5 separate regions of the Homo sapiens genome follow, and regions 2, 3, 4 and 5 are each linked to region 1. Evidence: promoter capture Hi-C in 16 types of primary human blood cells and fetal thymus (Javierre and others, 2016). All regions are on one chromosome and are shown on one strand. Each heading gives the region's core, a stretch centred on a gene start or on the middle of the fragment in contact. The rest is flanking DNA. Distances are from core to core; before and after follow the strand shown. Region 1 holds the start of SIRT4 (sirtuin 4). Region 2 overlaps LOC105370030 (a long non-coding RNA gene). Region 3 overlaps P2RX4 (purinergic receptor P2X 4). Region 4 overlaps LOC105378258 (a long non-coding RNA gene). Region 5 overlaps OASL (2'-5'-oligoadenylate synthetase like).

The links. Contacts are between HindIII fragments. The CHiCAGO score rates a contact against its expected background, and 5 or more counts as called.
Region 2: a fragment that was not itself captured here is called in contact with the fragment with the promoter of SIRT4 in region 1 in 1 of 17 cell types (naive B cells); the score reaches 7.6 in naive B cells.
Region 3: a fragment that was not itself captured here is called in contact with the fragment with the promoter of SIRT4 in region 1 in 1 of 17 cell types (total B cells); the score reaches 5.4 in total B cells.
Region 4: a fragment that was not itself captured here is called in contact with the fragment with the promoter of SIRT4 in region 1 in 5 of 17 cell types (naive B cells, fetal thymus, naive CD4 T cells and 2 more); the score reaches 7.3 in naive B cells.
Region 5: a contact is called between a fragment that was not itself captured here and the fragment with the promoter of SIRT4 in region 1, in 3 of 17 cell types (total B cells, fetal thymus and non-activated CD4 T cells). The highest score is 6.6, in total B cells.

The regions. Positions count from the first base shown.
Region 1 is chr12:120,298,975-120,303,812 of GRCh38, forward strand. SIRT4 (sirtuin 4) reads left to right here and starts at 3,347. Exons shown (of 4, transcript NM_012240.3): 1 at 3,347-3,404; 2 at 4,587-4,838. The coding sequence starts at 4,588. The HindIII fragment of the contact is 5,713 bases long and covers 3,320-4,838 here.
Region 2 is chr12:121,116,085-121,120,871 of GRCh38, forward strand. It overlaps LOC105370030 (a long non-coding RNA gene), which reads left to right. Exons shown (of 3, transcript XR_007063494.1): 2 at 689-798; 3 at 3,365-3,622. Among named protein-coding and RNA genes, the nearest start is that of P2RX7, 14 kb to the right of the region's middle. The HindIII fragment of the contact is 9,656 bases long and covers 1-4,787 here.
Region 3 is chr12:121,211,360-121,216,338 of GRCh38, forward strand. All of the region lies in intron 1 of P2RX4 (purinergic receptor P2X 4), which reads left to right. Among named protein-coding and RNA genes, the nearest start is that of P2RX4, 3.7 kb to the left of the region's middle. The HindIII fragment of the contact is 3,683 bases long and covers 1-3,251 here.
Region 4 is chr12:121,058,596-121,063,781 of GRCh38, forward strand. It overlaps LOC105378258 (a long non-coding RNA gene), which reads right to left. Exons shown (of 4, transcript XR_007063492.1): 4 at 695-1,161. It also overlaps the pseudogene OASL2P. Among named protein-coding and RNA genes, the nearest start is that of OASL, 22 kb to the left of the region's middle. RefSeq lists enhancers at 1,407-1,496, 1,617-1,786, 1,807-1,986. The HindIII fragment of the contact is 1,634 bases long and covers 1,524-3,157 here.
Region 5 is chr12:121,016,706-121,022,181 of GRCh38, forward strand. It overlaps OASL (2'-5'-oligoadenylate synthetase like), which reads right to left. Exons shown (of 6, transcript NM_003733.4): 6 at 2,406-4,353. The coding sequence ends at 3,856. Among named protein-coding and RNA genes, the nearest start is that of C12orf43, 3.0 kb to the left of the region's middle. The HindIII fragment of the contact is 612 bases long and covers 1,178-1,789 here.

The sequences.
Region 1 (4,838 bases), core at 2,097-4,596:
CCAGTACTTTGGGAGGCTGAGGCGGGCGGATCACGAGGTCAAGAGATAGAGACCATCCTGGCTAACACGGTGAAACCCCGTCTCTACTAAAAAAAAAATACAAAAAATTAGCCGGGTGTGGTGGCGGGCGCCTGTAGTCCGGAGGCTGAGGCAGGAGAATCGCGTGAACCCGGGAGGCGGAGCTTGTAGTGGGCCGAGATCTCTCCACTACACTCCAGCCTGGGCGACAGAGCGAGACTCCGTCTCAAAAATAAATAAATAAATAAATAAATACAATAATAATAATAATAAAAGTGGCGGGGTGCAGTGGCTCACTCCTGTAATCCTAGCATTTTAGGAGACTGAGGCAGGTGGGTCACCTGAGGTCACGAGTTCAAAACCAGCCTGGCCAACATGACGAAACCCCATCTCTACTAAAAATACAAAAATTAGCCGGGCGCAGTGGCGAGCGCCTGTAATCCTAGCTACTCCGGAGGCCGAGGCAGCAGAATCACTTCAGCCGGGAAGGCAGAGGCTTCAGTGAGTGAAGATCGCGCCACTGCACTCCAGCCTGGGCAACAGAGCTAGACTCTCTCAAAAAAAAAAAAAAAAAATTAAAGTTAGTTTTACTTACAAGTCTTACTGAGGATTACAGACCGAGGGCTATAGTGTGGGAGCAGTTCCATCAGACTGGTCCAACACAGAATTTCAGCCACTCATATACAAGTGGTGAGTGTACGGCGCCTGCAAAATCACATTAAACTTGCTTCAAAGTTACATTAAAGCACAATCATATCAAAGTTTGGGTGCAAGAGTATATCTGGTTATGGATTACAGAGGTATCATCACTAACCCCATCAGACATTATCTTGTGCAGGAAAAGGCAATGACCAGAGTCATTTATCTTTTAATGAATATAGTGACTTGGAAGAGACATGGAGGGCTGTGTGCTCTATTCTGTTTTGTCTTCAAAGCATCTTTCTGGAGAGCTGTATGTTGTCACAGAGTCAGGGGCTTCATGAAACGATGCTGCCAAGTCGAAATAAGCAGGCCCGGCATGGTGGCTCACACCTGTAATCCCAGCACTTTGGGAGGCCAAAGCAAGAGCTTTCCTTGAGTTCAGGAGTTTGAGACCAGCCTGAGCAACATAGTGAGACCGTGTCTCGACAAAAATAAAAAATAACAAAATTTAGCTGGGCGTGGTGGTGGATGCCTGTGATCTCAGCTACTCGAGAGGATGAGGTTGGAGGATCCCTTGGGCCTGGGAAGTAGAAACTGCAGTGAGCTGTGATGTCACAACTGCACTCCAGCCTGGGTGACAGAACGAGACCCTGTCTCAAAAAAAAGAAAAAAAAAAAGCAGAAATGGGCAAACTACTAAATGGTCATTTTGCCAATATTACCTCCAAAGATACAATGATAGAACCAAAAACCTAAAAACTCTTTCTCAAGCTTCCACATTACTTCTCTGCACTTCAGTTCATCTTTATTTATTATTATTATTTTTTGAAGAGATGGGATCTCACTTTGTCACCCAGGCTGAAGTGCAGTCGCACAATTATGGCTCACTGCAGCCTCGATCTCCTGGGCTCAAAGTGATCCTCCCACCTGAGCCTCTTGAGTAGCTGGGACTACAGGCACACACCACCACACCCCGCTAATTTTGTTTATTTTTTGTAGTGAGTGGGTCTCACTATGTTGCCCAAGCTGGTCTTGAACTTTTGGGCTCAAGTGATCCTCCTGCCTTGGCCTCCCAAAGTGTTGGTATTACAGGTGGGAACCACTGCACTCAGCCCAATTCATCTTAAAATGGGGGAAGGGAGTCCTTAGGTGGTCTTCAAGGTCCCTGCTGGCCGCCCACCTTTATGTCCAAAGACACTTATACATTTATTGATTTAGGTGATGCTGCAGAGCGGCAGTTCTGGTTGTCTACACATTAGGAACAATTAGGAAATTTGTAGATCAGAATCCCTGGGAGTGAGACGCAGGCCTTGTTTGATTAACTTAATAAAAAAAATATGATAAATAAAATTGGAGAAGCCAAGCAGGTTAAGTACATTAGTCCAGGTATAATATATTTGGCTTCATATTAACTGTAAAAACATCACTTTTGGCTGGGCACAGTGGCTTACGCCTGTAATCCCAGTACTTTGGGAGGCTAGGGTGGGCAGATCACGAGGTCAGGAGATCAAGACCATCCTGGCTAACATGGTGAAACCTTGTCTCTACTAAAAATAAAAAAATTAACCGGGCGTAGTGGCATGCGCCCATAATCCCTGCTACTCAGGAGGCTGAGGCAGGAGAATTGCTTGAACCCGGGAGGCGGAGGTTGCAGTGAGCCGAAATGGCACCATTGCACTCCAGCCTGGGCAACAGAGCGAGACTCCGTCTCAAAAACAAACAAACAAACAACAACAACAACAACAACAAACTATCACTTTTTCAGATATGTATAAACACATTTCTTCACAAGTTCAAGGTATTTTACCAATAGCAAATAACTTGATACTGTCGTTGTGAATGAAAAGGATCACAAACTCTGATGTTTAGAATGAGTCAAATCTAGGCCGGGAACAGTGGCTCAGGCCTGTAATCCCAGCATTTTGGGGGGCCGAGGTTGGCGGATCACCTGAGGTCGGGAGTTCGAGACCAGCCTGGCCAACATGGTGAAACTCTGTCTCTACTAAAAATACAAAAACTTTAAAAAAAAGTCAAATCTAGATCCATGATTAATGACGTGCTCATTTCACATTGCATGTTTGTATCAAAACATCTCATGTGGGTAAAGCATAGACAGGCACAGAGAAAAGAAAAAAAGACAAAAAATAAGAGAAAAGATGGCCGGGCGCAGTGGCTCACGCCTATAATCCCAGCACTTTGGGAGGTCAAGGCGTGCGGATCACCTGAGGTTAGGAGTTCAAGACGAGCCTGGCCAACATGGCGAAACCCCCGTCTCTACTAAAAATACAAAAATAATCCCAGCTACTCGGGAGGCTGAGGCAGGAGAATCGGTTGAACCCGGGAGAGGGAGGTTGCAGTGAGCCGAGATCGTGCCACTGCACTCCAGACTGGAGTTTTTTCAAAAAAAAAAAACAACAACTCCGTCTTAAAAAAAAAAAAGAAAAAAGAAAAAAAATCTTATGTACACTATAAATATATACACCTACTAAGTGCCCACAGAAATTGAAAACAAAGAAAAAAATCCATGATTAAAAGCTTTTATATTAACGGGGGAACCTCTGACCAGAAAGAGCCGACAGGGGGCGTTCCTGGATGATCTGGGGCTGTCAATTGCGAGACGCGGAGGATTGTGGGACTTGTGGTTTTTCTCGCATCATTTAAGCTTTCTGGACTACATGTCCCAAAATGCAAATGCAATCAGACGGTCCCACTGTGGGGTGTGAAGTGTCCGTAGAGCTGTGAGAGGTAAGTGTGTTCTGTGTGTGCTGCGGATTTCTAGAAGTTGTGGATTTCTTGTGAGGGATTCTATTTCTCCTCTTTGCCCTCGGTGGGACCTGGAAGAGAGTAGTTGTTCCACTGATGCACGTTTTCAGCGGGGGTTTCCCCTGACCCTTTGGTCTCGGGAAACCGGACTGTGTGTTTGTTCAGCTGTTCACGTTTTGCTGTGGAATGTCAAGGAGAAAGCGGGGTCCTGATCTCAGATCTGGAAAGCCAAACATAAAATAATGTTTACATACGGGGTGCATGTCACTAGAGGATTTATGCATTGCATTGTGTCAAATAATATGTCAAAGTTTTTTCTTTTTCTTTTTTTTTTTTTTTTTGATACGGAGTCTTGCTTCTTCGCCCAGGCTGGAGTGCAACGGCGCGATCTCGGCTCACTGCAACCTCCGCCTCCCGGGTTCAAGCAATTCTCCTGCCTCAGCCTCCCTAGTAGCTGGGATTACGGGCACGTGCCACAATGCCCGGCTAATTTTTTTTGTATTTTTAGTAGAGTCGGGGTTTCACCATGTTGGCCAGGCATGTCTCGAACTCCTGATCTCAAGTGATCTGCCTGCGTCGGCCTCCCAAAGTGCTGGGATTTCAGACGTGAGCCACCGCACCCGGCCCTCTATTGTTACAGCTAGAAAAGCTGACGGGCAGGGGTCTTGTCTCTCTGATGTGTCCAAGTAGCAGAGCTTGCAGTGGAGGGTAAACTAAAATAAGGGGGAAATGAAAAAATAAAAGGAATGCGTGTGTGTGCTTAATTACATGAACAAAATCAAACAAAACCTGACTCATTAGGGCCAGACTCAGAGGCTCACACCTGTAATTCCAGCACGTTGGGAGGCCGAGGCGGGCAGATCACTAGAGCTCAGGAGTTCGAGACTAGCCTGGCCAACATGGTGAAACCCTGCCTCTACTAAAAATACAATAATTAGCCGGGCATGGTGGCCATGTAGTCCCAGCTATTCTGGAGGCTGAGGCAGGAGAATCACTTGAACCCGGGAGGCGGCGGTTACAGTGAGCCAAGATCATGCCACTGTACTCTAGCCTGGGCAACAGAGGGAGACTCTGTCTCAAAAAACAAAACGAAAACAAACAAACAAAAAATGAGAAAAAAAAAAAACCACCCCAGTTTCTCACATGAGGCTTCTTTTTCTCTAGAATGAAGATGAGCTTTGCGTTGACTTTCAGGTCAGCAAAAGGCCGTTGGATCGCAAACCCCAGCCAGCCGTGCTCGAAAGCCTCCATTGGGTTATTTGTGCCAGCAAGTCCTCCTCTGGACCCTGAGAAGGTCAAAGAGTTACAGCGCTTCATCACCCTTTCCAAGAGACTCCTTGTGATGACTGGGGCAGGAATCTCCACCGAATCGGGGATACCAGACTACAGGTCAGAAAAAGTGGGGCTTTATGCCCG
Region 2 (4,787 bases), core at 2,288-4,787, 820 kb after region 1:
GTGAAACCCTGTCTCTACTAAAAATATAAAAATTAGCCGGGCGTGGTGGCATGCACCTTTAGTCCCAGCTACTCGGGAGGCTGAGGCAGGAGAATCACTTGCATCCAGCAGGTGGAGGTTGCAGTGAGCTGAGATCGCACCGCTGCATTCCAGCCTGGACAACAGAGAGAGACTCCATCTAAAAAGAAAAAAAAAAGAAAAAAAAATTCTCGTAGCCAAGGAGGACGCATTAATTGTGCTCAGGAATAATTGCCACATCAGATACAAAGTGAGAAGCCACGTTATGAAGGGACACAAAGATGCTAGATTAGCCAAGACTCTTGGTCAAAAGTGATATGTATGCCTGCTCCAATTGGCTTAAGCAATAAAGGGAGGTTATTGGCTCCTAAATCTAGTGAGGTTTCAGGTATGGCTTGATCAGTGTGTTCAAATGATGTCATCAGAAATCCCTCCATCATTACCCTCTGCCTCTGGTTTTCTCTGAGTCAACTTAATTCCCTGCTGGCATGACGGCCACCAAGAGCTTTAGGCTTATGTCCTGCCAGCTTAGCAACTCCAACTCAAAGAGCACCACTTTTTCAATGATTTTAGCCAAAATTCCAAGACTTGTCTCAGACCAACCTGAATCATGTGCCTGCTCTTGAACAAAGCACAGTAGCCAGGGAAAAATTGTGCTTTGATTATCTAGGACTGGATCCTGGACCTGCCCCTGGGACTTGCGGAAGGGGACAGCTCAATCTGAGCCATATCAACTGAGAACACAGGAAGCATGGTCCTACCAAGAGATGTCTATTCCAGGTATGGTGGAGCCTCAGAGGACAGCATGACTCTCGTTCAGCTGGTGGATCAGGGAATGGTCCAATAAGCCACAGCTGTGGATATGAAGGTCTGTTGATTTCAGATTGAGCTATAGGGGGATACTGGGCATGGCAGAAAAATCTATCAATCTCTGCTATAGTTAAATATTTGAATATTGGATTGTTTGCAGATCTTGTGAAATCAGTGACCTCTGGGTCATGTAGAAACCCAGCACATTCCCACAGGACACAGCCTAGCAGTTGATCAGAGCAGTAGTTCATACCTGAGACCCTGGATTTTCAGACCCTCCCCCAGGCCCCACCAGCCTCTGTCAGTGCCAAGCTGGACGGAACAAACCACATGAGGTTGGTCAGGCCTCTACCCCATGGAAAAACACAGAATGGTGATTTTTTGCCTGTACATTCCTGGACAAATAAATTCTCTTTTGGGAGCTTTTTCCTGGCTGGGCTATGTTATATGCCTCAGAGCTGCCCAGATCCCCTGGAAACCCAAAGATTTCCTTCCATGTGTAGGACTCATTCAGCCCCAGCTCAGAGGACTGTTTCATGGGTACTGGTGGCAGGAATTCTTGGTTGTCTTCAATGTCTGGCTCCCTGATTTTCGGTAGGGAACATGGTCAGCAGAATGAGGATGGCATTTCCTACCTTCTACTGCAGGTAGGTGTGACCATGTGACTACGCTCTGGCCAATGACCTGCAAGTGGCAGTGACAGATCCCATCCTTCAAGGGAGGAACATGCCTTCTCTTTCTCCTTTCCTCTTTCTTCCAGGCTTTTAATTTTTTATTGATTTATTGATTTTGAAAAATGGAGTCTTGCTCTGTCACCCAGGCTGGAGTGTAGTAGTGCAATCTCCGCTCATTGCAACCTCCACCTCCTGGGTTCAAGCAATTCTCCTGCTTCAGCTTCCCAAATAGCTGGGATTATAGGCACGTGCCACCACGCCCAGCTAATTTTTTGTATTTTTAGTAAAGATGAGGTTTCACCATGTTGGCCAGGCTGGTCTCGAACTCCTGACCTCAGGTGATCCACCTGCCTCAGCCTCCTAAAGTGCTTCCAGCCTTTTTAGAATTCAGTTCTGGTGGGAACCATTTTGGATCATGCTGATGAAGGTAACACCATAGAGATGGCAGAGCTGGGGTTGGGTCTGGTGACTCACGCTTGTAATCTTACCACTCTGGGAGGCCGAGGTGGGAGGATTGCTTGAGCCCAGGAGTTTGAGACCAGCCTGGGCAACATAGTGAAACCTCATCTCTACAAATAAACTCTTGGCTAAAGCAATCCTCCCACCTCAGGCTCCCAAGTAGCTAGGCTACAAGCACACACCACCATGCCTAATTAAAAAAAATTTTTTTTTGTAGAGACAGGGTCTCGCTATGTTGCCCAGGCTGGTCTTGAACTCTTGGCCTCAAGTGATCCTCCTGCCTTGGCCTCCCAAATTGCTGGGATTACAGGCATGAGCCGCTACACATGGCTCATATTCTCAATAGAGCAGTCCCAATTGGCCACTGACCAGCCAATAGTCTTGCTCTCCTGGGCAGATGTTCACCCTGGTCCAATAAGCCACAGCTATGGATATGAAGGTCTGTGATCTCAAATTGAGCTAGAGGGGGAAGATGGGCATGGCAGAAAAATCTATCAATCTCTGCTACAATTAAATATCTGAGGTCAGACATGGTGGTTCACGCCTAGAAACCTAGCACTTTGGGAGGCTGAGGTGGGTGGATCACGAGGTCAGGAGTTCAAGACCAGCCTGAACAAGATGGTGAAACCCTGTCTCTACTAAAAATACAAAAATTAGCTGGGCATGGTGGCAGGCACCTGTAATCCCAGCTACTCGGGAGGCTGAGGCAGAGAATTGCTTGAACCCAGGAGATGGAGGTTGCAGTGAGCCGAAATCGTGCCATTGCACTCCAGCCTGAGCGACAGAGCGAGATTCTGTCTCAAAAAAAAAAAAAATTGAATATTGGATTATTGAAACTTGGCATAGAGCAGCCACTGTCCTTGTCTTCTAAGAGCTTATATCATATTATTATTTTATTATTATTAATAACATATCATTATTAATTAATAGCTGCAGTTCACTGAACAGTATTAGATACCAGGCATGGTGCTTGTAATTAGTCATCTCATTGAATTCCCTTAATGAAAATTAGGTAGTCAGAGACCTTTCTTCATGGATCGCAACCCCAGGGGCATGTGGGATTTCAGAGATGTGTTTTGGGGAAAGAGGTATAATTATTCAACTTTCAGTTAATTAGCCACTTAGAGAAATTAAGTGGTAGGTGGAGTTGTAAAGGAAGGCAAAGTACTGGGCAGGCAGATGCTAAGTGGGCGACTGTTCTAGGCATAAGAGAAATGGGGGTGGGTATGAAAAAAAGCAAGAGAAAGAGAGAGAGAGAGAGAGAGACAAGGGAAATTTGGTTTGACTGGATAAAAAGGCCAGTGAAAAGAGGGAGTTTTGGTAAGAGCTATGCCATGGGCAGGGAGAAGTACAGAGATCTTCAATCATGGACTCTATCGCCATCCCCTCTTCTCTTCCTGCAGGTGGGCAGAACCAAGGTGCCCTCCCTACACCTTCCTGGGGCCTCCAGCGATCCTGAGCTCAGCCTCCTGACCTGCAGACCCCTCAGCTCTGGCCCTCACGTCCTGCTTGCTGTACCTGCTTTATCCCATATCACCATCTCCATTCCTCAGCATAGTGACAATCCCAGTTCCTACCCATTCCACTGGCTTCTCCATTTGGCTTGGAGCTCTTTAGCTGGATTGAGACGACTACTCTGATGAGTGCCATGTCACTGGCTCAACAAAATGGGCCCAAGTGAGTCAATGTCATTGACATGAAGGTGCTGTCAGTTTGGTGGGAACCAAGGGAATGAGACTGTGTTTTAGCTGCGTTCGTTTGAACAGTTACACACTTAGGGCTTCTTATGCGGATGCTCAGAGAGAAATATGGAAGACGAGATCTCGTAGAAAACAAGAAGACATGTTGTAAATGAGTCAGGCCTCCTGGAGTCCAGGACTAGGGAGGAACTCTTTATTGAGGATCACTCGAGGGAGTCTTGGGGCTGGTGGTCTTCACGCCACAGCCCCATAACTCAGCTCCTCTCTTCCTTCTCTCAGTCTCTCTGCTTCTGTTTTTTGTCTCATGTCCTAAATGTCCAACTATTCAGCATAACTTTATTCTGCTTCCCCTCTCTATCCTCTGTAGCAAAATGCACTGTTGGAATTACATTTTTATTTTTATTTTTATTTTTATTTTTTTAAGACGGAGTCTCACTCATTGCCTAGGCTGGAATGCAGCGGTGTGATCTCGGCTCACTGCAACCTCCACCTCCAAGGTTCAAGTGATCCCCTTGCCTCAGCCTCCTGAGTAGCTGGAACTACAGATGCCTAACACCATGCCCAGTTAATTTTTATATTTTTAGTAGAGATGGGATTTCACCATGTTGGCCAAGGTGGTCTCGAACCCCTGACCTCAGATGATCTGTCTGCCTTGGCCTCCCAAAATGCTGGGATTACAGGCATGAGCCAATGTGCCCAGCTGGAATTAAATTAATAATTTTTATTTCTGCTTTAGCGAGAGAGGCGGTGACTCACTGATACAAGGAAGATATTTCCCCTTCCAAGGGTGATGTATTCAGCTTTTGGGTTTAAAAGGAGATGCTATCAGGCACGCGTGGCTATCCTGGCAGATTACATAAAAATACAGAAGAAATGTTCTTTGTGTTAAAAGAATAAAAAAGAAAAAACAAAACGTGTTTCCTCAAAAACTTAAATACAGAATTACCACATGACCCAGCAATTCTACTACTGGCTATATCCCCCCAAAGAATTGAAGGCAGGAACATGAATAGGAATTTGTAGAACCATGTTTATACCAGCATTATCCACAGTAGCCAAAAAGTGGAAAGAAACTAAATGTTCATCTACGGATTAACAGACAAACAAAATGTGGAATATCTGTACA
Region 3 (4,979 bases), core at 160-2,659, 910 kb after region 1:
GCCCGGCCAATTTTTGTATTTTTTAGTAGAGACGGGGTTTCAGGCTGGTCCTGAACTGACCTCAGGTGATCCGCCCACCTCAGCCTCCCAAAATGCTGGGATTACAGGCGTGAGCCCCCACGCGGGGCTGGCACCTGTTACAATTGAATACAACGCGAGAGAGAAGATGATAATTACCTTGCCACCTGGGGCCACTTTAAAGGCTTACCTGGGGTGTTCTGGTGTCTACAGCTGCTGGGCTGACACGTATTGCCTAGTGCAGTGGTCTCCAAACTGCACATTGGAACCATCTGGAAATCTTTGGCTCCCATCCCCAGACCCTTTTTTATTTTTTTGATGGAGTCTCCCTCTGTCGCCCAGGCTGGAGTGCAGTGGTGCAATCTTGGCTCGCTGCAACCTCCACCTCCCTGGTTCAAGCGATTCTCCTGCCTCAGCCTCCTGAGTAGCTGGGATTACAGGCACCCACCACCATGCCCGGCTAATTTTTGTATTTTTAGTAGGGACAGGGTTTCGCCATGTTGGCCAGGCTGGTCTCGAACTCCTGGCCTCAGGTGATCCACCCGCCGCAGCCTCCCAGAGTGCTGGGATTACAGGCGTGAGCCACCGCGCCCAGACGCATCCCCAGACCTTCTGATTTAATTGCTGCAGAGTATGATCGGCTGCCCAGGTGATTCTCATGTTCAGCAACGTTTCGGAACCAATGAACTGTGTTTCCCAAGTTTACCTGATCATGGAAGACTCATCTGAGGAATTGTTTAAAAGTAACAGATCCCCCCGTCTTTGGGGTGAGGTTTGGAATCTTAACACTGCCCAAGGGAAGCCCAAGCAGGTTTGGCTTCCAATATCTGTCAGCAGCAGCAGTAGATACAGACAGTATTCAAGAGGATGGCTTTCCAGGTGCAGACTCAACATCAGAACCACCTGGCCCACACCCAGATTTGGACTCATTGGCTCACACCTGTAGTCCCAGTGCTTTGGGAAGCCAAGGTGGGAGGATTGCTTGAGGCCAGGAGCTCAAGACCAGCCTGGACACAAGACCAGCCTGGACAACATAGCGAGACCCCATCTCTAAGAGAAAAATAAAGTTTAAAATGGTAAATTGTACTGATGGAGCAGTGCAAAAAAAAGAATTTTTTTTTTTTTTTTTTCTGAACACGGTGGCTCATGCCTATAATCTCAGCACTTTGGGAGGCCGAGGCGGGTGGATCACCTGAGGTCAGGAGTTCGAGACCAGCCTGGCCAACATGGTAAAACCCCGTCTCTACTAAAAGTACAAAAAATTAGCCAGGCCTAGTGGCTAATGCCTGTAATCCCGGCTACATGGGAGGCTGAGGCAGGAGAATCGTTTGAATCCAGGAGGCGGAGGTTGCAGTGAGCCCAGATTGCGCCACTGCACTCCAGCCTGGGCAACAAGAGCAAAACTCCATCTCAAATATATATATATATATATATATATATATATATATTTTTTTTTTTTTTTTGGAGACTCACTGCTAGCCAGTTAACTGAACTCACATCCCTGGTTGGACCTGAAGCATTTGGGGGCAGGAGCTCCCCTGCAGCTTTTTGCTTTTGGCGTTTGCTGCTAGTGGGAGGATCAGTGCACATCTACCTTAGGGTACCTGTAAAATTACAACTGCGGAAAATATCCATAGTGGTGTTGCACTGTATGGTAGCCACTAGTAACTTGCACCTGTTGAACACTTAACCGTTCCTACTCTACACTGAGATGTGCTATAACCTTAAAATACACACTGGATTTCAAAGACATAGTACAGAAAAAGAGGCTGGGCACAGTGGCTCATGCCTGAAATCACAGTACTTTGGGAGGCTGAGGTGGGAAGATCGCTTGAGCTCAAGAGTTTGAGACAAACCTGGGCAACATAGCGAGACCTTGCCTCTACAAAAAAATACAAAAATTAGCCTGGCATGGTGGCACACGCCTATAGGCCTACCTATTTGGGAGGTTGAGGCAGAAGGACTGCTTGAACCTGGGAGGTTGAGGCCACAGAGAGCTGTGATCACACCACCCTCCAGCCTGGGCAACAGAGCAAGACACTGTCTCAAAAAAACAAAGAGTACCACTATCACATGAAAACATTTTTTATTGATGACATGTTAAAATATTTTGGATATATTGGGTTACACAGAATATATCATTACAATTAATTTTTCCTGTCTCTTTTTTCTTTTTTTCTTTTTAAACGGCGCCTTGCTTTGTCACCCAGACTGGAGTGCAATGCACTGCAACCTCTGCCTCCCAGGCTCAAGTGATTCTACCATCTCAGCCTCTGGAATTATGGGACTACAGGTGCACACCACCATGACTGGCTAATTATTGTGTTTTTGTTTGTTTGTTTGTACAGATGAGAAATCTCATCTCTACAATCATGAGGTTTCCATGTTGCCCAGGCTGGTCTCGAACTCCTGAGCTCTAGCAATCTGTCTGCCTCGGCCTCCCAAAGTGCTGGGATTACAGGCATGAGCCACCGTGCCCAGCCCTTTCTATTTCTTTTTACTTTTTGACATGGCTACTAGAAACTTTTAAATTACAGGGTCTTGCCCTGTGGTAGCTCACGCCTGTAATCCCAATACTTTGGGAGGCTGAGGCAAGTGGATCCCTTGAGCTTAGGAATTTTGAGACCAGCCTGGGCAACGTAGTGAAACCCCATCTCTACCAAAAATACGAAAAATTAGCTTGGCATAGTGGCGCACACCTGTGGACCCAGCTACTTGGGAGGCTGAGGTGGGAGGATTGCTGTAGCCTGGGAGGCGGAGGTTGCAGTGAGCCAAGATTGTGCCACTGCACTTCAGCCTGGGCGACAGAGCGAGAGCCTGTCTCAAAAAAAAAAATATGTGGCTCGCGTTATGTTTTTATGGGACAGCGCAGCTCTGTAGGATTCCTTATGACGCATTCACTATCTCGGTCATGAGAATCTTTAAAGCAGTAAATGCTTTGCTTTTGTCCGTCTTGCTATAATCAAAACTGACTCAGGACCTGCATTAAGGCTCTTTTTTTTTTTAACCTCATCTCTTAACTTTTTGATGCAACTCATCTTAGTGAAATTGTGGTCTCCTCCTACAGCAACCCTCCCTCAAAAAAAGACCGAACACGCAATTCTCATCTATCTAACTCTGTTAACAATCATATGAGGAGGAAATAATCACATGATAATGAGTGGCATGAAACCCTGTGTCTCTAAATTAAGCAACTCACTGTACTTGATGAGTACATCAGTCTTCCTGCCCCAAGCTTTTGTGTGTCAGACTGGAATTAAATGGAAGCTTACACTGCAGCTGAATTCCTAGAAGCCCTGGACTTGTCAGGGGAAAAGCCCATGGGGGGAAAGCCCATCTCTAGGCTGGGCAATGAACTTGGAGACTGCTCGATCACACACACTCATAAGTAACAAAACCATTAATTTCTTTTCTTTTTTTTGGTGGAGGGACAGAGTCTCACTCTTGCCCAGGCTGGAGTGCAGTGGCATGATCTCAGCCCACTGCAATCTCCACCTCCCGGGTTCAAGTGATTCTCCTGCCTCAGCCTCCCGAGTATGTGGGACTACAGGCACCCACCACCACACCCAGCTAATTTTGTGTATTTTTAGTAGAGTCGGGGTTTCACAATGTTGGCCAGGCTGGTCTTGGACTCCTGACCTCAACAAAACCAGTGAATTTCTGAAGTCTCAGCATCTAGGACTTAGAAGAAGGAGAAGCCTAGCATTTCCTGATTCTATAAATAACAACACTGATAGTCTCTAGTAGATGTTTAACAGCAGTTCGAAGGGGAGGGGTTCTGATTTGTAGTACTGGCCAATTTCCACGGTGTCAGTACTTGCTCTGTGACCAACGATGACTCACAAACATTGTTGTAAACATTTGACCTACATTAATTCTTTTACCCTCACAAGAATCCTGTGAAGATCTACTATCATTCCCAGATTATAGATGGGAAAAACTGAGGCACAATGAGGTTAAGCACCTTGGCCAAAGTTATGCCTCGTGAATGGTGGAGCTGAGCCATGAACCAAGACCTCTGCCTCCAGTCTGTCCTAACCCCTATAAGCTAATGCCTGTAGATGGTTTTTTTTTTTTTTTTTTTTTTGAGACAGAGCCTTGCCCTGTCGCCCAGGCTGGAGTGCGGTGGCATCACAGCTCACTGCAGCCTCCGTCTCCCAGGCTCAAGTGATCCTCCCACCTCAGCCTCCCAAATAGCCGGGATTTTTATTGGACAGCACAGCTCTGTAGGATTCCTTATGACGTATTCACTGTCTCAGTCACGAGAATCTTTAAAGCAGTAAATGCTTTGCTTTTGTCCATCTTGCTATAATCAAAACTGACCATGCCCGGCTAATTTTTTATTTTTTGTAGAGATCCCTATGTTGCCCAGGCTTGTCTCGAGCTCTTGGGCACAAATGATCTTCCCCCCTTGACCTCCCAAAGTTCTGGGATTACAGGCGTGAGCCACTGTACCCAGCCCCTTTGGATTTTTAATTGTTCAAACTGGTAGTCATAGTCCCACTTCAGAGGAGAGAACCATATATGTGACCAGAATTCTTGGGGGAAAAGTAAGAAACTACTCTTAAAAGTTCCTTAAAGGGTAGAATTCTCTTTTCTAGAAAGAGTAGCCTAGGGTTGTCCAATCTTTTGGCTTTCGTGGGCCACACTGGAAGGAGAAATTATCTTGGGCCACACATTAAATATGCTAACACTAACAATAGCTGATGAGCTAAAAAACAAACTTTTTTTGATCACACAAAAAAAAATCTCATAACGTTTTAAGAAAGTTTACGAATTTGTGTTGGGCCTCATTCAAAGCCATCCTGGGCCGCATGCGGCCTGTGTGCTATGGGTTAGACAAGCTTAGAGTAGAGCATAGTGGGTGAGAGAAGAGGCTTCAGATGCTTCTGGCTTGAGTTCAAATCCTGACTCTGCCACTCACTAGCTGTGTGACCTTTGGCAAGTGACTTAACCTCTCT
Region 4 (5,186 bases), core at 1,091-3,590, 760 kb after region 1:
TGTCACCCAGGCTGGAGTGGCGTGATCTCAGCTCACTGCAAGCTCTGCCTCCCGGGTTCACACCATTCTCCTGCCTCAGCCTCCCGAGTAGCTGGGATTACAGGCGCCTGCCACCACACCTGACTAAGTTTTTTTTTGTATTTTTATAGTAGAGACGGGGTTTCACCATGTTAGCCAGGATGGTCTCGATCTCCTGACCTCGTGTTCCGCCTGCCTTGGCCTCCCAAAGTACCGAGATTACAGGCGTGAGCCACCGCGCCCGGCCAGTCAGTGCCATTTTAGAAGGAAAATATAGATGATCTTGATGACTTTAGGGGTTAAGTGGGGCTGGTTAAAGAGGAAACAAAAGGCATAAATTTTATTTTAATTTCTTTAAAAATTTTTTTTAAATAATATATAAAAAAGTTTAAAATTTTAAATAATTGAGATGAGGTCTTGCAATGTTGCCCAGGCTGGCCTTGAACTCCTGGGTTCAAGTGATCCTCCCCACTCAGCGTCCCAAAGTGCTGGGATTACAGGTGTGAGCCACTGTGCCTGGCCAAAAGGCATAAATTTTATACAAACCTGCTACCCATAGTCCACTTGATTCCCTGGCACTTAGAGAGCTGGATCCCAAATCATCATCATCATCATCATCATCATCATCATCATCATCCAGATTTGTAGAATAGTTTACTGCTTAAGAGCACTTTTCTATGCTTTATCCCATTTATTGTTCATTAGAAACCGGTTTTAGAGAGGAAGAGACCGATGCTCAGAGAGACAAAATAACTCATCCCTTACCTATCCCACAGCCCCACAGTCCCACAGGGCAGAGCTGGGATTTGAACCCCGGGGGTTCCTGAGTGCTCACCTTTGCCATCTTCAGCACCCTGACTTCCTGGTCCAGAATCAGCTCATTATAGAAGAACTGATCCCTCAAGAACTGCTCAGTTCAATGCCCGGCATCCTTCACTTCATCCTTCCAGTCTCCCTGGGGCTGGAGGCTGTTTTACGAAGGCAGACTGGAAGGATGTTTTATGAAGACATCCAGCCTGTCCCCAGGGGTGTCATACAGGTCCTGGAAGCCTGCCATCTCTGTGGGACCAGGAATGAATCGTCTCTGCTTCTGCCCAGCCCTGTAAGGGGCAACTCCCAGCCTTTGTCCAGTAGGCCACAGAACTGCAGAAGGGCAGGGAGATGGTGTGGGTTAGAGAGAGAGTTAGCTGCCCTTTTTCTTTCTTTTTTTTTTTTTTTTTGATACAGAGTCTTGCTCTGTCACCCATGGCGTGATCTCAGCTCACCGCAACCTCTGCCTCCCGGGTTCAAGGGATTCTCCCACCTCAGCCTCCTGTGTAGCTGGGATTACAGGCACCTGACACCACGCCCGGCTAATTTTTGGTATTTTTGGTATTTTTAGTAGAAACGGGGTTTCACCATGTTGGCCAGGCTGGTCTCAAACTCCTGACCTCAGGTGATCTGCCCGCCTTGGGCTCCCAAAGTGCTGGGATTACAGGCGTGAGCCACCGACGGAAGAATCACTAAGCTTACTTTCCTCTTTTTAGGGTGCAGAGAGGGCTAGGGGGCCCTCCAGGCATCAGCTGAGCCTCCCTCTGCTGGGCTGCCTTAGTTCAGCAGCCATCTCTCCTGCCGGCTGAGAATGGAAACTGAAACTGAACTTTGTTTTGTTTGTTTGGGTTTTTTTGTTTTGTTTTGTTTTGTTTTAATTGGAAACAGAAAATTTGCTGAGCTTTGAAAGAGGAATTTTCTCTTTCCATTTGAGGTTGCCAGGAAAAAAGGCTGGAGATGGAGCCAAGTGCCCCTTGGGCTTCCTTGAGAGGAAGGTTCTCAGGCTGGGAGTTTCCCAGGGTGTCCTGGAGCTGGGCTGCCCCCACCTCTCCATCCCCTATTTCCTGCTGCAGGAGCAGACCTTGTCTCCCTACGGGAACTCAGTAGTGTCTGCCCCGGAATCAGAAGGTGCTGGCTCCTTGGGGTGAGGGGATGGGGGCTTGGGCTGAGCCCCGGGAGTCCTGGGGCCTGGGATTGACTCTTTATTTTCTAAAAGCAAAGACATACTCACCCCTTTACTACTTGTTTTGTTGCGTATATTTAGGTCTCCCCTATCCCCTCACCAATAATCCACAGGAAGGAGGTAATCTTTTAAAAAATTGTCTTTAGGGGGCGCTGTTCTCTCAAGAACTTCATTTTGAAGAGCAAACTGACAGTTTGTGGTAGACACATTGGCTTTTAAAGATCTCAACTAGCGACCAGGCGCGGTGGCTCTCGCCTGTAATCCAGCACTTTGGGAGGCCGAGGCGGGAGGATCGCTTGAGGCCAGGAGTTTGAGACCAGCCTGGCTAACATGATGAAACCTCGTCTCTACTAAAAATACAAAAAAATTAGCCAGGCGTGGTGGCAGGCGCCTGTAATCCCAGCTACTTGGGAGGCTGAGGCAGGAAAATCACTTGACCCCAGAGGCGGAGGTTGCAGTGAGCCGAGATGGCATCACTGCACTCCAGCCAGACTGTCTCAAAAAAAAAAAAAAAAAAAAAAAAAAAAAAAAAAAAGGAAAGAAAGTAAATCCCACATTGATACTGTGGAGGCCATAAGTATGCACCTATAGGATGCATTTTAAAAATGCCCTAACAACGCATAAATATGTCACTGAGGTTTGTTAAGAATGTCCAGATTTCCAGCCTGGGCAGCATAGTAAAACTCCATCTCTACAAAATATACAAAAAAATTAGCCGGGCATGTGGCATGTGCCCGTAGCTACTAGGGAGGCTGAAGTGGGAGGATCACCTGAGCCTGGGAAGTCGAGGCTGCAGTGAGCTGTGATCAAACCACTGCACTCCAGCCTGGGCAACAGAATGAGACCCTGTCTAAAAAAAATTAAAAATAAAAATGTCCAGATTCATGACAGCCTGTCTCTCACTCTGCTTAACAGAGTAAAAAATACTGAGCCCTGAAACACAGGCTTAGAAGATTCAAAAATTGCCTTGGAGAGGGAAAACCACTAAGTGGGAGATGCCTGTGAAGAGCTTGAGTTACAAAATCTTTTTGAAAACTGAAAGTGGAAAAGAGTAATATTTGTATATTACCCCATAACATATACAAATGTATAGCTGTATCTAAATAAATTAACGAAATATTGGAAGTGCATATTTGATTTCCCTTAAGCTTATGTAATTAGGGCTATGCCAACATATTTTTATTTTTCATTTATTTTTATGTTTTTCCCCATTGATCCATGTGATTCTCAAACACATTTTTATTTTCTCCCTGGCAAATATTTGTTATTAGTCCATTGGAAAAATTGATTGGATTTGGGGATCACCTTGCATTAGGGCATTTTTGGTATATGTACTCATATTTTAAAAACTGTGAATTCCAATATATATTCTTAATAGGAAACTGCGACATTTTTGTCAATTTTCCTCTCTTCCACAAGATGATGCTCCACACCCACCTAAAACAATCACCATTTGTAGTTCCTAGGATCCTAGTACAGAAGAGACAGAGGGGATCTGCTTAATCCTTGTTTTTCAGAAGGCAGACAGGAGCCCAGAGTGTTTACCAGGGCTCTTTGACATTATGGTATTGATATTAACTCCAATAGCTATACTTATCAAGCACTTCGTGTATACCAGGCTCTCTACACAGTTTATTTTATTCTTTATTTTTTTTGAGATGGGATCTGGCTCTGTCACCCAGGCTGGAGTGCGTGGCATGATCTGGGCTCACTGCAACCTCACCTCCCAGGCTCAAGTGATTCTCCCACCTCAGCCTCCTGAGTAGCTGAGACTACAAGTATGCATCACTGAGCCTGGCTAATTTTTGTACTTTTTTTTTTTGTAGAGATGGGGTTTTGCTATGCTGCCCAGGCTGGTCTCAAACTCCTGGGCTCCAGTGATCCGCCTGCCTTGACCTCCCAAAGTGCTGGGATTAGAGTCGCGAGCCTCCACACCCAGCCTCTTTTCACAGTTTAGTTCCCATAATCCCCACAAGACTCTGTGATGCAGGTTCACACCATGTTACATTATGAAGAAATCGAGTCTCAGCAAGATGATGTGGCCTGCCCAGAGTCACACACCAAAGAAGTGGACAAGCTGTGATTCAAACCCAGGTTCTCTGATTCTAAATGCCAGAGGTTTACCCACGACATTATCTTACTGCCCAAGGCACTTATTATTTATTGAGCTCCTACTACGTGCTGGGCACTGGGCGAGGCTTGGAGAATACATAAATGAATAAGGCAGCCCCATTCTACGGGCAGTTTGTTATGTGTCTTCTCTACTGGGAATCTTCAGCGTGAGAAGCACGTGGTCCCAGGGTCTAGCACATTTCTTGGCACACAATGGGGCCTCAGTTAATGTTGGCTGAATAAATGAATGAATGACACCATGTTTCCTAGGAAGCAAAAGCACTTCAATCTTGTGACTATTTTTTAGTCCATAAAACGGATAGATGGTGGAGGACAGAGAACTTCCTGGTGACCTTCTGCTTGCTTCGTCAAGGCATCTATCAAGGGTCCCCATCTTTGAGTATGGTGGCTCAACCACAGTGGACCATCCCAAAGGTCCTCTCTGGTTCTGCATTGCAGACACTCTGTGCATGGTGGTGCGGGACCTCCTTCCTGGAGGTGCTTGCTTCTTCATTTACCCCAGTGTTTCTTAACATTTTGAAGTCTTGTGAGCACCAGAGAAAATGATGAATGCAAGGGGCCCTCCCTCTAAAAAACATGTTAATGCTAATATTTTGCATGCAATTTCAGGGGCTTCCTGGACCCCAAGTTAAGAATCTCTGCTATGGGGCCGGACACGATGGCTCATGTCTGTAATCCCAGCACTTTGGGAGGTTGAGGCGGGTGGATCACTTGAGGTCAGGAGTTTGAGACCAGCCTGGCCAATATGGTGAAACCCCATCTCTACTAAAAATACAAAAGAATTAGTCAGGCGTGGTGGTGGGCGCCTGTAATCCAAGCTGCTCGGGAGGCTGAGGCAGGAGAATCGCTTGAACTGGGGAGGCAGAGGTTGCGGTGAGCCAAGATCGTGCCACTGCACTTCAGCCTGGGCGTCAGACTCTGTCTCAAAAAAATAAAAAAAGAATCTCTGGGCCGGGCGCGGTGGCTCACGCCTGTAATCCCAGCACTTTGGGAGGCCGAGGCGGGTGGATCATGAGGTCAGGAGATCGAGACCATCCTGGTT
Region 5 (5,476 bases), core at 234-2,733, 720 kb after region 1:
TGATGACAGATCTCCAGAGGGGATGGGAATCTCCTAAGGAGTTAATGACAGACCCAGGATTAGTTCCCAGGTTTTGATTCCATGTCATTTATTCTAGTAATTTCCCAGTCCAGCTGGGCCTAAGAAACACCTTAGAGAGCTGGTTAAACTGCAGACTTTTGGGTCTCACAGAAAATACTAACAGAATCAGAATCTCTGATAGGTGGAATCCAGGAATCTGTATTTCCTTTAATAGCCTAGGGCCTTACTACTTAAGAGTGTAGTCCATGAGCCAGCAGCATTGGTAACACCTGGGAGCTCGTTAGAAATGCAGAATCCAGGCTGGGCACGGTGGCTCACGCCTGTAATCCCAACACTTTGGGGGGCTGAGGCAGGCAGATCACAAGGTCAGGAGTTCGAGACCAGCCTGGCCAACATAGTGAAACCCCATCTCTACTAAAAATACAAAAATTAGCTGGGCATGGTGGCACGCACCTGTAGTCCCAGCTACTCAGGAGGCTGAGGCAGGAAAATCACTTGAACCTGGGAGGTGGAGGTTGAGGTGAGCCAAGATCGTGCCACTGCACTCCAGCCTGGGCAACAGACTGAGACTCTGTCTCGAAAAAAAAAAAAGAGAAATGCAGAATCCTGTCCGGGCACGGTGGCTCACATCTGTAATCCCAACACTTTGTGAGGCCGAGGCGGGCAGATCATGAGGTCAGGAGTTCGAGACTAGCCTGACCAACATGGTGAAACCCCATCTCTACTAAAAATACAAAAATTAGCCAGGCAATACTGACTCCCAGGACCCATCCAAGACCAAAAAATTAGAATCTCTGTGGTTAAAATACCTCACAGTGAAGGATGAACAAAATCACTTTACTTTTGTGTGTGGAATGCTGTTTCATGTTTTATCTTTGAAGACAGGTATGTCAAAACTTTACTAAAATAAACTCTCTGGCCTTGAGCTTTTTCTATTTCAAAGAAGAGGAAGGTGACTGATATGGTCTGAATGTGTTCCTCCAAAATTCATATGTTAAAATTGACACCATAAAATAAATAACAGAGAGACTGACTCTCCAAAATAAAGCGTTTATTCCAGAATTGCAAGGAATTGCAATTTGAGATATGCATGCTATAGTGGACTATAGGCACATTAAAAGAGGTTGTGGCAACGAGAAAAGACAAAGTCCACATAAGCTTCTTTAAAACAAGTACCGTTGATCACAGGAGCCTGTTGCAGGAGTTGGCTTTAGCTTATTGTGGAGACACCCACTGTTAGGCAAATATTCTTATGCAAGTGGTTTATCTATAATACTGCGGATTTTAGGAACTTCTTGAGATAATTTTTGTGACAGGCATTTGTTAGGGTTTGACATAAGTGACTCCATTTTGATACTGATAATTTCCAAAAAGTCCTTACTCCCAAGGTGATGGTATTAGGAGGTGGGACCTCTGGGAAGTAATTAGTGAAAGGGTCTTGTGTTGGTTCGAACCCCAAGAGCGTGGCCAACAGACAACATGAGGCAGTGTGTGTGCAGGTGGGCTGAGGCTTAAAATGGCGTCAGCACCAAATGAGGACGGGGCAGGGGTTTTGTAGTCTCCTGTAAACAGGAAGTTTCTCAGTCTGTTGTAACCGCTACATTGTACCCGGATGACGTCTCTCTCGGTCTTCAGGGGGTAGGTGTCTTCTGGCCCGCTCTCTTCCCGCTTCTGCTATCTTGCTGACACATGCTGCTGGCGCGAGTGGCCTTGCGCCTTGGGACCGGGCCCAAGGAGGGAGGGGAGGGAGGGGTCATTCATTCTCTTAAGCTTTCAGGCCCCACGGAGAATCTTTCAATTACATAATGGGTCCTGAGCCCTCATGAACTGGATCAATGCCTTCATAAAAGAGACCCCAGAGGCCAGGCATGGTGGCTCACAACTGTAATCCCAGCACTGTGGGAGGCCAAGACAGGTGGATCACAAGGTCAGGAGTTCGAGACTAGCCTGGCCAAGATGGTGAAACCCCGTCTCTACTAAAAATAAAAAAAAAATTAGCTGGGCACAGTGGTAGGTGCCTGTAGTCCCAGCTACTCGGGAGGCTGAGGCAGGAGAATCGCTTGAACCTCGGAGGCAGAGGTTGCAGGGAGCTGAGATCATGCCAATGCACTCTAGCCTGGGTGACAGAGCGAGACTCCATCTCAAAAAAAAAAAAAAAAAAAAAAAGAAGCGATCCTAGAGACACCTTTGCCTCTTCTACCATGTGAAGACTTAGTGAGAAGCTGCCATCTGTGAATCAGGAAGAGGTCCTCACCAGACACCAAATCTGCCAGTGTCTTGACTTGGACTTCCCAGCCTCCAGAGCTGTAAGAAATAAATGGTTATTGTTCATGAGCCATCCAGTGTATGGTATTTTGTTTTAGCAGCCCAGATGGACTAAGACATTGCATTTTTCATTCTTTTTTTTATTTTAAACAAGAATTTTCCCACCACCTACAATGTGGGCTGTGCTGGGCATTATGAAGGACACAAAGATGGGGACTGGAACAGCCTGTCTACCTCCTGGAAAGGAGGCACTTTTTCTGTCCCTGAAGGCAAACAGAGGTGGGAGATACACAGATTATGATTGCTAAATTGACCAGAGGCTGTTGATAACCAATTGCAGTGTGCATTTTCTATGCTATGGTAGGAGAGTAGCCCACCAGAAAACTAGGCAAAACAGGGGGGCAAAAGGAAACTTTTTATTGCTTGGAGTAAACCTGATCACATGACGTCCTTTGATAATAAAGATGCTATTACTTTCCTACAGTTTCCTGACTATTATGTACTGTTTGTGTATGGGTTTTAGGAGTTGAGGTGATTTTTTTTTACACTGCATCATCCTCAATCTCCCATTCTTTGTCTCTTTTTGCCTCAGTTTCCCCAGTCCTCATTTCTTAGAGTTGAGAAGCTCAAATGATCAAGCAATAACCATTAGGACAGCATTAGGCCCTGTGGAAATAAACAGCCCCCAAATGAGAACTAACAAAGGCGATTTATTCCCAACTTGCTATAGCAAAGGAACCAGCCACCCATCTCTCGCTTTTGACAGAGATTTAAAGACAGGCAGGAAAATGGGAAGGCTTCAGGGATGCCGTGATTGAGGCTGTTGGTATGGGGAAGCTGGAAGTGCACTCACCAGAAGTGGGGCTAACCATGTGATTGGTCTGGGGAGCTTATTTGGGTTTCTTGGGTTGGTCATAAATAGGAAGCAGGATGGGAGTAGGGTGGGGAGTTAGAGATGCTGCCAGTTATCGCCCAAGTCCTGATGGTTTGGGGTTGATTGCTGCAGAAGGCTGTGGGTCCGAATTCTGTTGCTGTGCGTCATGTGACCACACTATTTATTTGTATATTTAGTCCTCACACCCCTCCTCATCCTCCCCCTGGCAGGGCTGGGATAATCCTTTTTTTAAACGGATTTACTTATTTTTATGTTTTAGTTTTTAGACACAGGGTCTTGCTCTGTGGCCTGGGCAGGAGTGTAGCGGTGTGATCACAGCTCACTGCAGCTTCAGCCTCCTGGGCTCAAGTGATTCTTCTGCCTCAGCTTCTTGAGTGCCTGAGACTACAAATGTGCACAACCACACCCAGTGAATTATTTTTTTATTTTGTAGAGACGGGGTCTCCCTGTGATACCCAGGCTGGTCTTGAACTCCTCGGCTCAAGCGCTCCTCCCACCTCGGCCTCCCAAAGTTCTGGGATTACAGGTGTGAGCTACCACGTCTGGCCTGGGATAACTCATTGTAAAACTGGTGAAGACCTGGGACCTTCCCAGTAGACAATGGGACAGAGTGATTGACAGGATGAGTTCTGGAGTACATGGCAGAAATGTACAGAGAAGTCTCCCAGAGAAAACTAACTGGCTGGAAACAGAGCCTCTCCTTTCTTCTTCGAGAGGATGAGAGTGTCACTGTCTTGGATGCCATAGATCCCCAGACCCAACCAGTCCTGCAGGACTTGGCCTTGGAATTCCAGCTGCTGCTGCTTTTTAGGAAGCCCCTGCTGGTCTTCAATCTGCTGCTTCAGACCCAGGATGAAGCTGTTGGGGTTGATGGCATAGGCGTAGCTCCCACCATCAGGATTCTTCACGAAGACCTGGATCTCGGAGGGGATGGTCTCCAGCAGATAGATGTGAGTGTGGGAGAAGATCCCATATTTGGCTAAGGAGCACCTGCTGCTGAGAAGCTGCCTCTCACTGCCAGGAACCTGGAAGGACAGACGCTGCAGGCCAGAGTAGCCCCTGGTCCTCCGGATTTTCTCTTTAACCTTCCTTATGGGCTCATAAGGGTTCACGATGAGGTTGAAATCTGGGTAACCCCTCTGCTCCACTGTCAAGTGGATGTCTCGTGCCCTCTGGAAGGGAGAGGGAGAAGGAGAGGTGTTAAGTCCACACTTCTTTGTCTGATGTGCAAATGTTCCCTTCATCTGTCCTTATCTTTACAATAGTAGCAGCAGCAGCGGCAGCAGCAAATGTTTAGGGAGTGGTAAGCACTTTCCAGGCTGTATGCTGAGCACCTTCCATACCCTTAATGCATTTTATTCTCAGAGCATCTCTATTAGTTGGTTGGTTCTACTGTTACCCCCATGTTATTGATGAGGAAACTGAGCAGGGTTAGGTAATTTACTGAACACCAATCACATAGGTAGTAAGGAGCAGGGCAGATATGTGAAGTGAGGTTGGTCAGACTCCAGAGTCTGTGTTCTCACCACCTCCAGAGGCTACACTCCAGGGCCTGAGAGCCCCAGGTGGCTGGAGAGCACCTGGAAAATGCTGGCGAGGGTCAGGCCTCTAGCTGATTCTTTCCAGAAGAAATATAAGCCTTGGCTGGGTGCAGTGGCTCACGCCTGTATTCCCAGCACTTTGGGAGGCCAAGGCGGGCAGATCACTTGAGGTCAGGAGTTTGAGACCAGCCTGGCCAACATGGCAAAACCTATCTCTACCAAAAAATGCAAAAATTAGCCGGGTGTGGTGGCGTATGCCTGTAGTCCCAGCTACTCGGAAGGCTGAAGTGGGAGAATCTCTTGAACACAGGAGGTGGAGGTTGCAGTGAGCTGAGATCGCACCACTGCACTCCAGCCTGGGCAACAAAGGGAGACTCTGTCTCAAAAGGAAAACAAAAAAAGAAAAAGAAAAAGAAATATAAGCCTGGCATTGCCAAGTTTTCTGACTAGCCAAGATAAAAAATATTTGCACAATGTTGTGTGTGTTTGTTTTGTTTTTTGAGACAGGGCCTTGCCCTGTCACCTCAGGCTGCAGTGCAGTGGTGCAATCTTAACTCACTGCGCCTTGACCTCCCAAGCTGAAGCGATCCTCCCGCCTCAGTTTCCTGAGTAGCTGGGACCACAGGTGCGTGCCACCACATCTGGCTAAGTTTTGTTCTTTTTTTTTTTTTTTTTTTTCAGATGGAATCTCACTCTGTTGCCAGGCTAGAGTGCAGTGGCACGATCTTGGCTCACTGCAACCTCCGCCTCCCAG